2 separate regions of the Homo sapiens genome follow, and region 2 is linked to region 1. The links are contacts of gene promoters, found by promoter capture Hi-C in human tissues and cell types (Jung and others, 2019). All regions are on one chromosome and are shown on one strand. The core of a region is centred on a gene start or on the middle of the fragment in contact, and the rest is flanking DNA. Distances in the headings are between cores, read along the strand shown. Region 1 holds the start of LYN (LYN proto-oncogene, Src family tyrosine kinase). Region 2 overlaps LYN (LYN proto-oncogene, Src family tyrosine kinase).

Evidence for each region. Contacts are between HindIII fragments. The study calls those that stand out against the background at their distance.
Region 2: a fragment that was not itself captured here is called in contact with the fragment with the promoter of LYN in region 1 in 1 of the 25 tissues and cell types used here (H1 embryonic stem cells).

What each region holds. Positions count from the first base shown.
Region 1 is chr8:55,878,513-55,881,596 of GRCh38, reverse strand. LYN (LYN proto-oncogene, Src family tyrosine kinase) reads right to left here and starts at 1,762. Exons shown (of 13, transcript NM_002350.4): 1 at 1,494-1,762. RefSeq lists silencers at 979-1,158, 1,189-1,478, 1,559-1,728, 1,749-1,808 and enhancers at 1,959-2,018, 2,579-2,668. The HindIII fragment of the contact is 15,672 bases long and covers 1-3,084 here.
Region 2 is chr8:55,912,008-55,914,982 of GRCh38, reverse strand. All of the region lies in intron 1 of LYN (LYN proto-oncogene, Src family tyrosine kinase), which reads right to left. Among named protein-coding and RNA genes, the nearest start is that of SNORA1B, 11 kb to the right of the region's middle. RefSeq lists enhancers at 1-411, 412-912. The HindIII fragment of the contact is 8,639 bases long and covers 1-2,975 here.

The DNA.
Region 1 (3,084 bases), core at 513-3,012:
ATTTACATCCAAAGAGGCCCAGTCACCAAAGACTCTATGATCCAGTGAAATTTATTCAGGCCTCAAAGCGCTTACCTGCTTACCTCCAAATGAGAATGGAGGGACTAACTGGATCCCACCCTTTCCCAACAAAGCTTACTCTTACAGAGAAGGGCTTAGTAAGGCCTGGGTTCTTGCAGTGCCTATTCCCCAGGGCATGGCTTTAGGTGTTGGCTGTACAGAGAAAACATCCCTGTAGCCCACCAGTTTATTGGCTAGTTCTTTAGGGAAAGTCAGACTACTGGGCCCTGCTTTGGGACAGCAAATCCCTCATGTATTTATTAAGCAGATTTACTAATAAGGTCAGATGGCTAAATCTGACATGGTAGTCTTAGCTTCAACATCACCAAGCTGCAAAGAACCAAGAAGCCTCATTTATATGAATAGAATTCACTGCAATAAATAACAGTAACATCGTTTATGAAATGCTTGGTACGTACTAGGGGCTTTGTGTGTACTAAACAGCCCCTGAGGTATATATGCTCTCTCAAAGATGAAGAAACTCAAACAGGGAATTTCAATAATCGGTCCCCTAAATATACAGCCAGAAAAGTGCAAGGCCTAGATTCTGAGCTGGCGAAGAAGGGCGAATTTGGGATAATTAACACACTCGGATATACAAAAACACAACCGCTAATCCACATGACAGGCAGGCTGTTGGAAAGTTACGAATGCACCGCAAGCAAAAGATGCCACCATGGGCCCAGAGAATGCAGGAAAGTGGGAACTGACTCTTACGCCCTTCCCCCAAGGCGAAGGAAAGGCAACCCCTGAATTCTTAAAATAACTCTCGCTTCCTCTCAGCCGGCAAAAGCACCGGACTGCTCCTCGGCAGGCCGAGAGGCGCCGCAGCGGGAGGGTGAGTTCCAGCCTCCGCTGCAGCCCCTCGACGTCACGCTCCTGCCCGGGGCCACCAGGGAGGGCAACTGTCCGCGGGCCTCGAGAGGGCGCCGGCCGAGCCCCATCTCCCACTGCCAGGAGACCCAGGGTCCAGAGGGGAGATCAGATTGCACAATCCGAGGAGTCCTCTCCAGTATCCCCGCCGCGCGCCCGCTCCGCAAGGGCAGCGGCTTCCCCACTGTGTGCGAGAAGCGGCCGGAGCAGGGACAGCAGCCGGCCCTCGGGCCCTCACCGGGAAGGACACGCGGTGAGCCCGCCCCCGCGCCCGCACCTCCCACCGCTCCCCTGCGCGGCTCCGCGGCGGACACCTGCGGAGCCTCAGTCCCCGCGCCCTGGCTCCCCCGGGCCCGGTCACCCGTCGGCTGAAGACATCTAAGAGCCTTCGCCGCCGGAGCCCAGAGGCGGTGCGGCCAGGAAGCCGCCGCGGGCCGCGCCGATGCCCCCGGCCCCGAGTCTACCCTGCGCCCGGGACTCCGGCTGGTGGCACAGCCGCGGCCCCTGCACCCACTGCCCGCGTGCCCGCGCCCACCCCTGGGCTCGCGCAGAGGACTCACCCGCTCGCGGTGAAAGTTTCGGGGCGGCGGAGCTCCACGGTGACTTGAGTTCAGAGTGGGGGGCGCGACGGGGCGGCCCAGCAGGACCTGCGTATGGGGAGGCTGCTGGCCGGGAACGCTGGACGCGCGGCGAGGGGCTGCTGGCGCGGGGCCGGGGGTGGCGCGGCCGCCCCGCTTGCCGCGGGCTGGAGGCTGCAGCGCGTCTGGCCCGGAGGCGCCACGGCCGGGGAGCGAGCGGCAGCGCGGCCCGGCGCGGCGGGAGAGGAACTGGCTGTCTCTGGGCTCGGCCGAGAGGTCCCAGCTACTTCCTGGTGCTCGGATTTGCATATTGAGCCCGGAGGGCGGGGAAGTGACCGTTTGGTCCCTGCCCAAGGTTTGGGTGTTTGGTGTGGCCGTCGCGCAGGGCTTTGAAGGCACAGAAACCTGGCGACTCAGTCTGCAGCTCCGGGGAGTGGAGCAGCCCGGGCCAGCCTTCTCCTGTAGGGACGGACGGAAGGATCTCCAGAGGAGCCTGGGCTTCGCAGGCACATCGACTACACCTCTCGCGTCTCCTTTCCTTTCCTTCCGACCCATCCCCAAGGTATTATTAGGAAGGGGGTGCTCCCAGGAGCGGAGGAGGTGCGCTCTGATCCCTTCCAACATTAGGGGTTCTCTAGAGAAAGGATGCGATATGCCGAGGTGATGCTCGGGGTCTCGCTGAGTTCTTAATAATCATTACAAAGTAAGTTCCTTAAGGGTGTACAGGAGGCTGTTCAGGGCATTGATGGGGGAGGGGATGACGTAGAGTCAAATGGCCCGGCAAGTTCTCCGTTTCTCAAAGCCTCAGTTTCCTCCCAGGACAATGGATGTGAGGATGCCTATCTCGTGTACCTTTCTGTACAGGGCCCGCACTGCCCGCATGCAGGAATGCTGGCGTTATTTCATTCCTACTACAGCTGCGTCCCAGCATGTAGGGCAGTGCTTGCACGTAGCAGCTGGTGCCTAACCAGTGTTTGCTGAAAGAATGTGTGACCGCGTGCTCAAGCTCATGTTCAACTCAATAAATGCCACTTACAAATCCAAGATGTAAGATTAGGCTCGGGCACCGTGGATACCCACTTCTTCTAAGCCAGATTCTGTTCACTGGGATCTCAGCATTGCATTAATAGCAAACATTTACAGAGGGCCTGATGGGCCAGACACTGCCCAAAGCACTTCCTTTCTCTCATTAACAATGTTCTGAAGAGGCTGACCCCAGCTACAGAGCAATAAGTCAAAGCAGCTGCCTTGTGACACAATCTGATACAGCAGTTATTTGTTACTAGGAAAAGAGTACTAAAGTTTGCATACTAATTCCTTAAAAGAAGAAAGGTGGTTTATACCTGTGATGTTCACTGGTATGTAGTTGTTAGTTTACTGCTGAAGAGAAGGGGTGGGTTGCCCATGGAAATACCCATGGGAAGGTGTGTGATTGAAACCTATCAAGAATCCTATGGAGAAAAATAGAAAAATGAAAAAAGAACAAAACAAAACAAAATGAAACAAAAAACAATGAATCCTACAGAATAATTCACTACCTGAGGGCCTATTGCCTAGACTTTTCTTAAGAATG
Region 2 (2,975 bases), core at 269-2,768, 34 kb before region 1:
TAAATTACCCTAATTCAAAGCAGGTGAAACCCCAGGCACACAAACAGATGGCTAAGAGACAATTTCAAGTTGAGTTGTCCCTGAATCCCATCTGAAACACATCATTAGCATTGCTCACCTTTTCTACATTTGTTTGAAACTTGGCTCTATTGTTACAAACAAAATGAACAGGAGGGGTGGGAGTGAAGAGAAGAGCAACTTCCTTGGCCTTTCTTATTTTACCAATTAGGTAAATCTACTGGATATTGTAGTGAAACTGTTTTCTCATGTCTGGAAGGGTAAGGTGAGCGAGGCTGATGAAAAGGAGGTAGAAGGAACATAATCACCACTATGGCCATTCTGTTATCTGGATTCCTAACAAAATTCCTGAAAATGGAGGCCTCAGGAAAGGTTCCAGAGATTGGGGTGTTCCTGGAAGGCATGTGGATGGCCGGCAGGGCTGTGACCTACCCAGGCCCCTAGTCCCAGCAGCTGACCTGGCTTGATTCACTGCATAGTGCCTCTCTGAGCTCTGAAGGAACTGTACACGGCTCACATGAGCAAATAAGTGCCTTCTCCTTTTTTCTTCTTCCACTCTCACTTTAGGGGAGCATTTGCACCCTAAAGTATGGGGGCCATCTCAGTATATTTCATGTCAAATACATAAAGTGCTTACAGGGAGCAGCAGGACTGGCCCCCTTAGAATACAGTGTCCCCCTTCCCCTTAGATTAGTGCCTGAGTCCTCAATCTCTTCTCCACTCCACGGCCGACCTCCAGACCCTCCTACACCTCACAGGCCATCCTAAAAACCCTCTGACCTGGCCTGCCTTTCTCTTATTTCCCATGCCATTCATATTCCCTCTTCTTTCTCTCTCTGTCATACGTGCACACACACACACACACCAACAACAACCCTCCACCTCTCCATTCTCCATGCTGCATGCTAGTCCACTTATCTTTCCAAAAGCAGCCATGATTTCATCTCTCCCCTGTTTCCTCACTGCTCATTGCTCATCTGATAGAGCTTAGCAAGTCACTCCTCCACAATAACCTGTCTTCCTGGTTTCATAAGCTGCTCATCTCATTCCAACTCATCCTCTCTCGCAGCCATAAGAAAGCCCAGTACTCCAAGGCCCTTCATACCTTCTGGTGCCCTCGCACTTGCTTGCTTCCCAGAATAACCCATCCCATAAGCAGCCTCCTTCATGTTTCAAATCAGCCATTTCACAGACCACATCCTCCATAAAAACTGTGCCGAATCCCCAGACAAAACTACACATCCCTTCTTCCACGTCTGTGCTTATTTCAAGTAGAGCACTTGTCTCACGTCCTATTCTACTCAGTACCTTCAGCCCCAGGACACTGCCAAGCCCATTACGGGCGTTTACACTTTGCTGAATCATTTCATTAATAAAATAATTTATGTGTAATTATTTCTCCTCAACCCCTCAAAAATCTCCTCCAGCACTGGTACCTTTAATGTAGTTGAAATTCAGCAAGCACAACTTTAATCGTTTTATTCAAGTTGGTGTTTTCTAGATTTGCTAGTCCCAAGAATGACCAGAGTATTTGTTAAAAATATAGATTCTTGGGCCCTGCAGTAGGCAGCCCCTGAATGAGACTTTACAAGGAGGCTGTGGATATTTGCATTTGTAGCAAACAATATAGGTAATTCTTATACTCACTTGACTTAGGGGACACTTTTGTCCCCTACTAAAATCTGAATACCTTTGGAAAGAAAGCAACATAGCAAACTTTAAAACTATTTATATTTCAATGTGAATTATTTGGTAAAATCTTTTTGCTAAAAGATTTTAACAGAGGGGCCCAGGGAAAAGGAAGCGAACACAGGATATATCCAGTTTTGATTTTTGCAAAAAGGTTTTTGGATATGAGGCCAGTTTATATCCAACCCCTTTGTAATAAAAATACTTACCTAGTAAAATGGTTTCAACAGGCAGACATCCCACTAACTCTATTACATCACTTGTCATTTTTAATAAGTAGCATCATCAATTCTTCTAGTGGTTAAATATTGATAATACAAAATATAGATTTAATTATGAAATTTCATTACTATATAAAAGTAAAGTAAAGGGGAATAAACTTTTTACACACGGGCCATTTTAAGAAAAATTATAATATTTGTAGTCCATTAAAAGAATACATATTTTTAATCAGGAAATATAATATTGTAACTGTGCTTATGTGCATTTCTTTTTTCCTTATAATGAAGGAATTTCTTCTCTGTTTTGTTTTGTTTTGTTTTTTTTTTTCAGATGGAGTCTCACTCTGTCACCCAGACTGGAATGCAGTGGCATAATCTCGGCTCACTGCAACCTCTGCCTCCCAGGTTCAAGAGAGTCTCCTGCCTCAGCCTCCTGAGTAGCTGGGATTACAGGCATGTGCCACGATGCCCAGTTAATTTTTTGTATTTTTAGTAGCTACGGGGTTTCGCCACGTTGGCCAGGCTGGTCTCGAACTCCTGGACCTCAGGTGATCCGCTTGCCTCGACCTCCCAAAGTGCGGGATTACAGGCATAAGCCACCATGCCCAGCCAAGAATTTCTTATTTGGGTTAAAATTTCAAAAACTACTTAAGCGCAGGCATGGTATAGTCTAACCATAACGTTAGATTTTATAAAGGTTGTGACTAGGAGTATTCAAGCCTGATTTCTTTCCTTGACTGGCTTTCATTGCAAAATAACCACTTCATTACGAAAAACATTTTGTTTCATTATGCCTAGCAATGCATCCTTAATGATACATTGCAAAAGGGGCACACAGAAATGTGTTACACGGTGAAATATTCTTTAGTCAAATTCCTTTGGAGTACATTTATTTTTACCATCATTTCTTTTCTTGCAGCAGTCTAGCTGGTGTTTAAATGATTATCTCTAAGGTAGCTTGCCCCAGTCACACTGTGCTCTAAGTTGTTCCTCTCTCCTTCCATTTGAGCAGGGAAACACTAGATGGGAGAAAGCGCGGAAAGGGCT